2 separate regions of the Homo sapiens genome follow, and region 1 is linked to region 2. Evidence: promoter capture Hi-C in human tissues and cell types (Jung and others, 2019). All regions are on one chromosome and are shown on one strand. The core of a region is centred on a gene start or on the middle of the fragment in contact, and the rest is flanking DNA. Distances in the headings are between cores, read along the strand shown. Region 1 overlaps CADPS2 (calcium dependent secretion activator 2). Region 2 holds the start of RNF148 (ring finger protein 148).

What was found. The method cuts DNA at HindIII sites, captures the fragments that hold promoters and counts their contacts. A contact is called where the count stands out against the background at its distance.
Region 1: a fragment that was not itself captured here is called in contact with the fragment with the promoter of RNF148 in region 2 in 1 of the 25 tissues and cell types used here (hippocampus).

The regions. Positions count from the first base shown.
Region 1 is chr7:122,733,129-122,739,475 of GRCh38, forward strand. It overlaps CADPS2 (calcium dependent secretion activator 2), which reads right to left. Exons shown (of 30, transcript NM_017954.11): 2 at 3,827-3,940. All of the region lies in intron 2 of LOC124901738 (a long non-coding RNA gene), which reads left to right. Among named protein-coding and RNA genes, the nearest start is that of RNF148, 33 kb to the left of the region's middle. The HindIII fragment of the contact is 4,462 bases long and covers 2,690-6,347 here.
Region 2 is chr7:122,700,585-122,707,017 of GRCh38, forward strand. RNF148 (ring finger protein 148) reads right to left here and starts at 2,338. Exons shown (of 1, transcript NM_198085.2): 1 at 1,084-2,338. The coding sequence starts at 2,166. The coding sequence ends at 1,249. The region is part of intron 2 of CADPS2 (calcium dependent secretion activator 2); the gene reads right to left. LOC124901738 (a long non-coding RNA gene) reads left to right here and starts at 2,508. Exons shown (of 3, transcript XR_007060503.1): 1 at 2,508-2,562; 2 at 3,795-3,872. The HindIII fragment of the contact is 4,808 bases long and covers 1,748-6,433 here.

The sequences.
Region 1 (6,347 bases), core at 3,671-6,170, 35 kb after region 2:
GAAAGAACATGAAAGGCCAACCATGCTTCATATATATCTAGCATCTTCAAGGAAACACAAAATCATGAAATGAAGGACAATCATATTCAAAAGAAATTTCATTACAATACAAAAGTAATACTTTTAGAAAAAGAGAATTGTGGAGAAAGTAAGAATAAAAACAAGATCAAAATATACAGTTTCTAGATAGAGCAATAAGTACTGCAATACCCATTCACTCAGTCATCAAGTATTCATTGAATATATTTGTGTGCTAAACTGGGGATACAATGGTAAACAGAAATGGCTCTTTCATGGAACATACATTCTAGAAGTTATAAGGTCTGCATCAATATGGTTCTCAAATGACAATGTGAATCAAAATTATCAAGGCTGTGAACAAATGTGATCCCAAAAGAGCCAATCCTTCAAGATGGATCCCAAGTAGCTAACTAGGTTTACATTCAAATTGAGTCAAGTGGCCATTTGCTGACTAGAAGTCACAAATGTTACTCTGAGTTCCCTGAAAATTCACACCTCTGTTTAACTTTGGGACTTCAGGAACTCACCTGAACCCACCAATCAGAGCTCACCTACCTTGTCCAATCAGGGCCCAGTGATATCCAACCAATCAGAACTTGCTTGTGTTGACCAATGAGAGCTAAGCAAGTTTGAATCCTTTATTTGCATAAGTGGACCTGACTGGGAACCTAGTGCAAAATCTTTCACTATAAAATCAGAGCCCATTGCTTGAGTCAAGGATTTCTAGGCCACAGTAAGCTATGATCACATCACTGCACTCTAGTCGGGGTGACTGAATGAGACCTTGTCTCAAAATAAATTAAATTAAAAATCAAAATTAAATAAATGAAATTGCTTTTCAGAGAACTTTTGTTCACAAAGCACAGGTTCAAAATTCAGATGTTGAAGCCCCATTCTCAGAAATTCTTATTCAACAGGTCTTGTATGGAACCTAAGAGTCTGCTTTTAGTCAGCTATGGTGGTATGAGGTCCTTAGCTCTGCTTTTAATTAGCTATGCAGTATTGGACAAGTCACTTAACTTCATGAGTAAGATGGGAATAATTATCTTGTTTATAAGACTTATTCTAAAATATAAATATATATTTAAATATATTTTAATTTCTCTGATGTCTGAGATTGCTAATAGATTTTGAAGTGCCCACAGTACCTGACATAGGTATATTCAAAATGGCAACTGTGAAATAACGATAGCATGCCAGAAATAGTAAAAAAAAAAAAAAAAAAAAAAAAAAAAAAGAAAAAAAAAAAAGAAAATCTGGATTCACATTTAACTCGGATGCTTACAATATGTAACACTGGAAAAGTCATTTAACCTCTATGAGCTTCAATTTCTATTTATGTAAAGTGTAGGTAATAATACTTGCACTGTTTATTGCAAGGAGATATTGAAAGAAGAAAAGTTAAGACTGTTCTGGTAAACTATAAAAATTACTACATAAAAGTAATAATACATAAATAAAACATAAAGATCATGATCACAGGAAAATATGCAAAATATACTTCTAAAAAAATGAAAGGCATTTTGGGAAAAAAATTGAGAAGCAACTTTTCTACCTTATTTTTCCAACTAAATTTATTTATTCATTCAAGAGTTTGTTGCATACCAAGTGTGTATTACCTGGAAAACAGTAACTCCACAAATGCACCCCAGGAATGCAGACTCCATAATGAGCATCACAAATCTTAACACCATTTTGAGACGTGCACAAAGACATGTTAGATATAGTTTCACGACTAAACACTAGCTGGAAATACGAACAGAAGTATAGAAAAACCCTCGGTCACCAAGTCAAACCACCTCTTCAATGCTTACATCTCTTTCTGTAAAAATCCTAGCAGGTAGTCATTTAATTCCACTGGTTAGCAATCCACCAATTCTAAGAGAATCATCTGGAAAGCTTTCAAAAGCATGAATTCTGTAAGTCTGATTCAGAAAGTCTGAGACAGAACCCCAGGACCTGTTTCTGTAGTATGTTTCCCAAGTGACTGTGAAAGGCCACTAGAATCAAGTTGTGATGCTATACTCAACCAGTCCATTCTATTTTGGGGCACTGCAACCAAACTCTAGATATATTAGGTTGAAATCTTCCCCACTTCAGTTTCCACCCAAGTCCTAGTTTTACTCTTGGGATTGCATACAACACCATAAACCGAATCTGTCTACAGGCTAAACACCCCCAGCTCCTTCAACTTACATATGGCATGTTTCAAACCTGATCACTAAATTTGTGCACTTTTTTTATTCATATATGGTGCCCAGAAGAGAACATAATCCTCATGTAGAACACAATGGGGATACTCTCTCCTTCACTGGAGTTACAATATTTTTATTAGCACAGCTTGTGTGCCTTTTTTTCAATCTGTATTCTGTTGAAATGTGTGCCTTTTTCTAAACTGTGGCCACATCATACTACGCTTACTTTTAAAAACTCACTTATTTTGAAATATTCTAGGTTTACACAAAAGTTACAATGATAGTACAAAGAACTCCCTCATCCCCCTGCTGATCCAATTTCAGTTTCCCTAACCTTATCATCTTAGAGTGCAGCAGTGCATTTATCAAAACCAAATATAAGCCTACTGTTTCACTAAAAACTTTATATCTTTTTATACAGATTACTCCCCTGAGCTACATTTCCTTCATCCCAAATACAGACTTTTGGCTTTTCTTTAGTTTAAGTACATGAGGCAAATATAGAAATTTACAGTTAATACTGTAAGATTCAAATATTGAATTTTACATGATGAAATCTTCCTCTGACTCTTACAAGGTGAAATCTAAGGTCCTATAGATGTTAAAATTTTGAGCTCCTATAACTTGTTAAGATATTCTGAGACAAGGTCCAGTTGGACATACCCACTCTTGACATTAGATTTATGTTATATACATATTTAGTCAGCAAAACTTCATTTAATTCAATAGGCTGAGGCTTGGGGTAAGGTAAACTTCTCTAGAGTTGCATTAATTAACCTCTGATGCATACCATCACTATTACAAATCCAATCAGTTAACAGTACATCCAATTACTTAATATTTTTACACAAAAATATTCTTGCCTCAGGTAAGTTCAGACCCATTGTATCTCCACATTTTCCCTTGTTTATTAGTCTAATATATATTCGCATATTATGCTTCTTCAGCTGAAAGGTGTTGAGTACCTGCACAATGAAAGGAATCCATTCCCTCAAATGACTCTGAATTGCTTATGCAAAAAGTGAATTCTCTAAACTAACAGCTAGTGGCAACTCACTGAAGCAGTTAATGACCATGTGTGAAAACTGGTGCTCATAGGAAATCCATAGAGAAACTCCTATGAGTCACAAGCTAGAATCAGAAGAAACAGCAGAATGGTATTGGTAGTATTATTTCTTTAGGAAGCAAAGAGAATTCAATTCATCCTCTTGAAATTAGTTACTAGCTTTAATTATTATAAAGCTTAGGGAACAAAATTGCATAAGATAGCAATTTACTATTGAAATCCAGATTTAAAAGGATAATTTAGACATGTGGACCTAAAGATAGCTATAGTCAGCTGTATCAATCACTGCCAGAAGATTTTTCTAAATAGTTTACTTCTCCTCAAAAGATGTGACTAATTTCGATTCTGTTTATCTCTCAAAACCAGGCTGTGGAATTAGAGCTTTTAAATTGCTAAATAGAACTGACAATGCTTTCAAAAAGGTTGCAAATTCACAGCCTTCCTGTCAGACCAGCAAGCTTCTTTAAAATGAGAAACCCATAAAAATAATAAAACTCCTTTTAAAATGCATCGGAAAGCCAAAAACAAAGCTCTTCAAACTTACCTCATAATAACTCCGAACTGCGTTGCAAAATGCTTCGTCAGCTACAATTTGGGTTTCCCCATTGAGGAAGGCCTGGAACCGTTCTTTCAGTAACTGCAACTGTTGTTTGTTAAGCTACAAGAAAAAGAGAAAATAAGCAGATAAATTGGCCAGTACATGAAAAAATAATGACTATTAAAAATCATATTTGCTGTATATTAGATTTCACATCTAGAATTAACTTTATAGTAAAGAAAAATAAAAGCTAAAACATCCTACTACTTGTTCTAATGGTTAGACCTCCATCTCAAGATGGAGTCAAGCTCTGTCTTCCAGGCTGGAGTGCAGTGGTGCGATCTCGGCTCACTGCAGCCTCCACCTCCCGGGTTCAAGCGATTCTCCTGCCTCAGACTCCTGAGTAACTGGGATTATGGTGCCTGCCATCACGCCTTGCTAATTTTTGTATTTTTAGTAGAGATGTTGGCCAGACTGGTCTCAAACTCCTAACCTCAAATGATCCGCCTGCCTTGGCCTCCCAGTGTGCTGGGATTACAGGCATGAGCCACTGCACCCGGACACTAATGGTTAGACTTTAAAACATTTCCAAGCCATTTCATGTACTCTGTAATCCTGATATGGAAGTGGAATCCAAATTTCTACCCCAAATTTCCAGAATCCTGATATGGAAGTGGAATCCAAATTTCTACCCCAAGTTTCTATCTCAAATTTCCAGAATTCTTGTGATTGCCACACCAGTTTCTTCATAGAGACAGGGAAAATATAAAATTTGGATAAGAAATTAACTAATAGTTAATATTAATAATATTATACAAAATCGCCAGCTGTTCTAAACAGAGAAAGTAGAGAGGAGCTTAGAGATGAGGGAGGGATGCCTTGGACAAGAGTTAATAGGAAGAAAGACTGAAAAGACAGAACGTACCCTAAGAAAGATCCCTCTGGAAAGAACAGCCATTGCATGCCAAAATTTGGATTCCATGAACAAACATACATCAATACCTGAGTTTAGATAATTGAAGGAATAATAAGGAGAAGACAAAGAAGACAAATCCAAAAGAGAACAGAGAGGCAGCAGGTAGGCAGTGAATGCGTCTTTGAGCACATAGGAGAAAATGCTCTGAACTGGGGAAGTTTACAACCAAGGGTCCTTACCCTGGGTCTAGCTTCCATAATTAATACAGAGGGTGAATTAGACATGAAATGTGACTTATCAATCATGTCCTCTAGTCATCAACTACAAGCAGGGTGAGCTACTTAATTTGTAGGGCCCAGTGCAAAATAAAAATAAGGAGCTTCTTAGTAAAAATATTAACAATTTCAAGACGGCAGGAACAGAGAGCATTAAGCTGAGTGCAGAGCCCTTCTAGGCACTAAGCCCTGCACAACTGTACACACAGGGGCATGTACTTCACTAGAAATAAGGCGTCTTAGATCTTAGGTAATGCAGAAGCTTTTTTTTTTTTTATGCTTAACTGGAGAGAAAACAACATAGTCTTGGAGATAAAACAACAAATTCCAAAATACATAAGAAACAGCAAAGGAATGATCCTTCCATTTCATTCGATCCTGATCAGACTTTATTAACAAACTCATTCCAGTTCTGGAATCTACAGAGGGATGTGAAGCATCTGGAAACATACTGAGGATAAAATGATTAAAGGATTAGGAAGACTAAACAAACTGGTATGACTTGGCTCAAAAAGAAGGCTGATGTGAATTAAGTATAAATCTGTTCAAAAGGCTTATTAAACTGCCATTCAAATAAAAGGAAGACAAGCTCTTTCAAAAAATGGGTTTTATTTAGGACTCTAACAAATAAGACAGTTTTTAAAGAAACTGTAGCTGGGAGTAACAGACTGATTTAAAAAAAATTAAAAAGTGTCCTATTGTACCCAGGGGGGGAAAAAAAAAAAAAAAAAACTTTTGCCATGGGCAGCGAAGAAAGAAGACCATTCCATCTCTTTACTAAGATTATCTCCTTCATTTTAGAGGAAGCTTAACCAAGCTGAGGTGCAGGAACATCATCATTATATTACAATCTCCATTTCTGTAATATTAAGAAAATGGAAGCAGGTACCTTTTGTATGGGTGCATACTAGCAACGCAAATTAAGTTCATGACTTTAGCTCTCTAGGCATGATTCACAAAAGGGACCAAATGGAAATGGGACAGCAATTGCTGAGAGTGAGGCGGCTGAAAGCACTATAGTTACTAAGCTCTGGGAATGCCAAGAAGAGCTTCTCCTTGCAAGCCAAGTAAAATAATGGCAATGGAAATGTATGCAAAGAATGACAATGAACTGAAGGAGACCTTACTGATCACTTGTGCCAACTCCTTTGCTTGATAAATAAAATACATACTCTTCAAAAACTAGAAACTGTGTATTTTTTCATTCAATTTTATTTTATCAAAGATATCTTTTTTGTTCTTTAAAACTCTTCTAAACTACAATATTTGCAATTTCTACATCATTAGTATTTAAGTTCCGCTATTATAACAGTGAGTTACTCTTTGGTAATTACAG
Region 2 (6,433 bases), core at 1,088-3,587:
GTCTCTCATTGTTATATAGGTGTTTATTCATCTACTAGAAAAAAGGAAGATGCAAAATAAGGCAAAGAATATAACATCGAAAGGCAATTGAACAAAATTTTAGCTCTGCCCTATGTTATCAAAATGCCCCCAGAGAAACATTCATTACCATTTGGAGAGGAAAAGAGAAGCATTTACTAAGGACACTTCTAGAAAAGAAATCTGCTACCATAGCTGAGTCACTATGCTAGGATTTAAAGAGCTCTGGCAAACAAAAGTGAATGTTTGCAATGTTATCCTAAATGAAGCCTATAATAATTTAGAACACTTTTCCTTACATATCCAAAGTACTATCATCTAAAATAATTATTTAGAACACATTACCAATCCAGTGAGTAGCTTTGGAAACTAGATTTCCTGGGTATTAATAAAATTAATTAACCATGGAGAATCAGAGATATAAATTATTAGATACCAAAATTAGTCAAAATGTGGAAACAAAGTACAAGAATTAGTATTAAAAAAGGAAACTTTAAAATAGCATGGCTAATTCTCTATGGCAATGTCACAATCCTAGTAACTTGAAGAAAAAAAAATTTGTTTTTAACATATACTAATGTTCTTATTTGGATAAGGGCAAAAAGGGATACGATTAAGAAAATGTGGCACATATACACCATGGAATACTATGCAGCCATAAAAATGGATGAGTTCATGTCCTTTGTAGGGACATGGATGAAGCTGGAAACCATCATTCTCAGCGAACTATCGCAAGGACAAAAAACCAAACACCGCATGTTCTCACTCATAGGTGGGAATTGAACAATGAGAACACATGGACACAGGAAGGGGAACGTCACACACCGGGGCCTGTTGTGGGGTGGGGGAAGCGGGGAGGGATAGCATTTGGAGATATACCTAATGTTAAATGACGAGTTACTGGGTGCAGCACACCAACATGGCACATGTATACATATGTAACTAACCTGCACGTTGTGCCCATGTACCCTAAAACTTAAAGTATAATAAAAAATAAATAAATAAAATAAAATTCACCTAAAAAAACAATTAAAACTGATTAGAAAGACAAGAAGTTCAAATAGCTGGGCATGATAAGGAGTTTTATTTTTAAAACACAAATTTCACCCTTGTTCATACTTGGGTAGAGAAGCTGAAATTTTCTCTCTACATAAAGTACAATAAGACAATTTATCTAATCTTTGTATTTGGAAAGATCTGGTTACATCTTCAGAAAATTCTCCAGATTTCTTAAGTTTTCAGGATGTCACACTTGCACATGGGACATGTCCTATGGGCTAAAAGCCAGGGGTCAATGCATGCCTTATGGAAAAAATGTTTGCAAGTTAAAATGCGTACTACATCTTGGGGTTTGTATGTGTCAAAGCAAACAACACAGTTGTCTTCATTTAGGTCTAATTCCTCATCCCCTTCTTTGAGAACTCGCAGTTGAAGCTGGTCAATAGCTTTCTTCACATCTGTCTTTATTTGACTTCGCCTCCTGGTGAAAGAATTGGGCACTCTAGGTGTAAGTCTCCAGACGCAATCTAAGTAAAAGTAGGCAATTGTGGCAGCCAGGAAGGTAAATAGATACATGATGTAATGGCTCACCCACTGCATGTGCATTCTCCCCACTTCAATGATGACTGTCACATAGACTCCTTTCTGAATCGAGTGCAAAATTTCCATGCCTTTCAGGTTGCTTATCATCACCGCGACTATATTTTCCGTCCCCTGGTGAGACATGGGAAATACTTTACTGCCCGTACCTTGATAGTTGTAGATGATCACCCCATTTGCTCCCTTCTCTGCTGCCACGTTGATTTTATGTGTAAAAGTACAGCCTCCACGTTCGATGAGGGCCAGCCATGAGTCTGCCTGTTTGGGCCTGCTGAAATTGGTCAAAGGATGACAGGCATTCTGATTCCATCCTTCAGGAAGTGCCACCACACCAGACACCCTTTCCAGAGGAGAATGATTCCCGAACACTCCACTCTCTCCTAATTCCGATGTGATCTCATTTCCAACCTGAAATGTTATATTCAGGTGAGCTGTCCAAATGGCTTTTCCGTTTGAGTCAGGAAAGCTAAGTAGTAGAAAGATACTAAGCCTCAAAAGTCCAGATGAAACAGAACTATGCGTCGAAGGGGTAATTCTAAGGAAGCTCATGCCTCCATTTGTCTATTAAGAGACAAACATGAGAAAACAAAACAACATCAGTTGTAGAAGAACATAAAGAAGATAGCTTGTTGGCGGCAGATTACTAAAGCACATAAATGGAAAAGGTCTCCCTGGATCAAAGCTATCTTGCTCCTTCCAGTATTTTAATATTTAGTAGATTATCTTTCTCATAATGAAACAAAATAACAAGACTTGTGATTGGTACCATGTGATTTCAAGAAAATTATGACATCCAAATGGGGAAATTATGACATCAGAGGTAGTTAAACCAATCCAAGAGTTTATATTAGTGCATTGCATCCTGAAATCCTATTGGCCAAAAAGCTAAGCAATGAGTCAAGATACATAACAATTTGAATAGGCTGTAAAGCAATAAATAAACTGGTAAGAATTTTTTAAAGCCTTGGGTTTCTTCCTTAGTTCTGGAGAGACTGAAAATCTACCCAGCCATATAATGTTTTTTCTAGCTGTAAGGCAAAGGCAAAGATAAAAATAATTCATGTATTAGTGCATGTACCTGGGCCAGTTGCCAGTTTTCATGCATGGTTCAACACTACCCAATATGGCATTCTGTGGGATGGTTCAACACTACCGAATATGGCATTCTGTGGGATGGTTCAACACTACCCAGTATGGCATTCTGTGGGAAGTAGGAGCAAACCATTCCCACCCACTTCCCACATTAAATGCCTATCCCACACCTAAAGATCCAACACTAAGAAAACAGTGTAAACTCTTATTGTTAGCCTAATACAGTCCCATCTTCTGGTAAGAACCTACTATGTGCTGGCAAATACTGAGAGTGGACATATATTGGAGAAGAAAATAGAGACGGCCCTACTCTTGTAGAGGCTAAGGATTTTGGATGATGTCCCAAGGACAAGAGAAACACACTGTAGGGTTCTAAGCCAGGGAGGTGACAAATGTGTTTCAAAATGTTCACTTTGGTTGCTTTATGGGGAAAATGTATTGGAGAGGGAGAATAACAAGAGAATGAGCTTAGGCAAAAGAAGATAGTGGCTTGGACTCAAAGTAGCAGCATAGATGTAGAGACACAGACAAAGGCTGAATAACAGATTTAGTAACTGGAAGGACAGTAGTGGGAAGAGGAAAGGATGGCCACAATGATAAAAAATCACTACATGATTTTTGCAAATTACAGAATCTTTACGGCTTTAAAGATGCCTTATTGTTTAGTTTTATCTTAAATCTTTATCTAAAGTCTGTTTCAAGGAGCCAATAAATTGGCAACACCCACTCAAAAATTTATTTTCTATCATGTATAGGTTATCTTCTATGTGCTCAGCATGCCACAAAGTCCTAGGGATAGAAAAAGAAAAGACCTTATTTCCTAGTGTGAAAAATGGACATGAACATTTAATCATAGACATGATAGAGTTTTCTCATTTGGACAAAAGCATTTATTGTATTCCCTGGCCTATTTTAGTTAATATTTGTTAGTATTCCCTGTATTTTAGTTAATATTTGCTTTTTTAAAAAAAAACTCTAGGAAACAGTCTACTTGTCCCATTCATGCAATTCTGTTGAAGCATGATTCAGGTAACACCTGAACTGTCCTTACAGGTAGACTTTTTTTTTTTCATGTTCAAATGGAGTGAATTCCTGGCTGATTCTATTAACAGTGACAAATTGAAGCCTCATTAAGAAGACGGTTTAACATCATCATATTAGAGGTAATTTGTTAAATCTGTGATTATTTAACCTTTGGAAGTAGGATTACAAAATAATATAACTCTGACTTTTTATTTTGCAGATTTTTTGTGGGTGAAGTGTTTAACCTGTAACTATATTTTGCTTCAAAACATATCTCACATCAAAAGGTTCTCTGTATGGTTGAAAGGACCAATTTGAGGAACTTAGCTCATTCATTCTATTTTTCTCATTATAATATAAAGTGGTTAAGGCAATGATAGAACTGCCCTCTCTTCTGCCCTCGTCTTACAACAAAATAGACCTATAAGAAACAATCATCTATCTCTTAAAAAGTGGTTTTCAACTTGGGGGCAATTTTGCCTCTCAGGGGACATCTGGCTGCTTCTGCAGACATTTTTTGATTGTCACAATTAGAGAGTGCTACCAGCATCTAGCGAGTACACACCAGCGTTGCCACTAAAACATCTGAAAATGCACATAGTAGCTCCACATAATAAGAAATTATGTGGTCCAAAATATCAATAGTAAGGTTAAGAAACCCTAATCTAATGAAACAGCCTGAGGAGAGAAGCATCCCAAAACTCTCCCAACCCCGATGGGTGGTCAGGTATAAATTCTCGACACAAAATAAGCTTTTATAATTGACAATGCTTCCATCAAGGATGAGGCCCTCAATGCAACTTAATTTCTCTAGTTTTCCCTGGAATAGAAACAGGAGAGATCTGTACAAGTTACCTTTTAGTCCATTAAGTATCATGACAAATTGCATATATTTTATCAGAATGAGGTCTAAGAGTCTTCCTGGAACCGCATGTGACTGGGAGACAGAGAGAGAGACTGGATGATTGAGGCTACTGTAATCTGTTCCTTTTAGATCATTTATTCAATACATGGACATTCTTTCTAACAGCCAAATATTGAAGAGTTTTTCATTCTGTTGAATTTTGCAGGTAGGTTACAGAGAATTGAAATATATTAGTAGAGATAATATATAATATGTAATATAATATTATATATTATCTATATTATATATTATATATATTTATATTATATATTATCTATATTATATATTATCTATATTTATATTGTGTATTATCTATATTATATATTATATATATTTATATTATATATTATCTATATTATATATTATATAATATATTTTATATATTATATAACATTTATATATATTATATATGATATATAATATATTATATAATATATCTCATATATAATATATTATATAATATATCACATATTATATATAATATATCATATATTATATAATATATCATATATTATATAATATATAATATATATAATATATAATATATGATATATTATATAATATATATCATATATAATATAATATATATGATATATAATAATATATATTTATATATAATATATATTATATAACATATTATACATATTATATATAATATAATATAATAAATATAATATAATATATAATATATTATATAATATAATATATAATATATTATATAATATAATATATAATATATATATAATATAATATAATATATAATATTATATATTATATAATATTTATATATATTATATATTATATAAATATATATTATATATTCAAGGATTTATATATTCAAGGAATATATATATGTTTATATATTCAAGGAATATATATATATGCTTATATATTCAAGGAATATATATATATGCTTATATATTCAAGGAATATATATATGCTTATATATTCAAGGAATACATATATATGCTTATATATTCAAGGAATACATATATGCTTATATATTCAAGGAATACATATATGCTTATATATTCAAGGAATATATATATGTTTATATATTCAAGGAATATATATATGCTTATATATTCAAGGAATATATATATATGCTTATATATTCAAGGAATATATATATATGCTTATATATTCAAGGAATATATATATATGCTTATATATTCAAGGAATATATATATATGCTTATATATTCAAGGAATATATATATATGCTTATATATTCAAGGAATATATATATGTTTATATATTCCTTTTGTAGGCAGGCTAAAGAGAACTGAAACATATTACTAGGGTTGGTTCAACTGGTTCAAAAAGTCATTCTACCTAACTCTTGTTAACAGCGAATATGTATATATATATATATCACACACACTTAAGAGATAGGTTGTGTGTGTGTGTATATATATATAGTTACATGCTCTTAACAAGAGATAGGTAGAACATACATATATATATTCTTTTATATATACATATTCCTTGCTCATATATATGTATATATACTTATATAAGAGCAAGGAATATATATATATATAAAATGTATGTGTGTGTGTGTACATACATATATATATACACACACACACATATATATATATGTATGTACACACACACACACATTTTTTTTTTCCAGAAACTTACCAGACTTCCCTCAATGTCTCTTTGGCTAGAATTGCTTCACAAACCCATGCCTAATGAAATCCTTGGAAACCGGAGTGGAATCATCATGATTATCTTAGGTTAATCATGATTTATCCTGTTGTAGAGAGCTCTTTCCCTGGCTGAGCACATG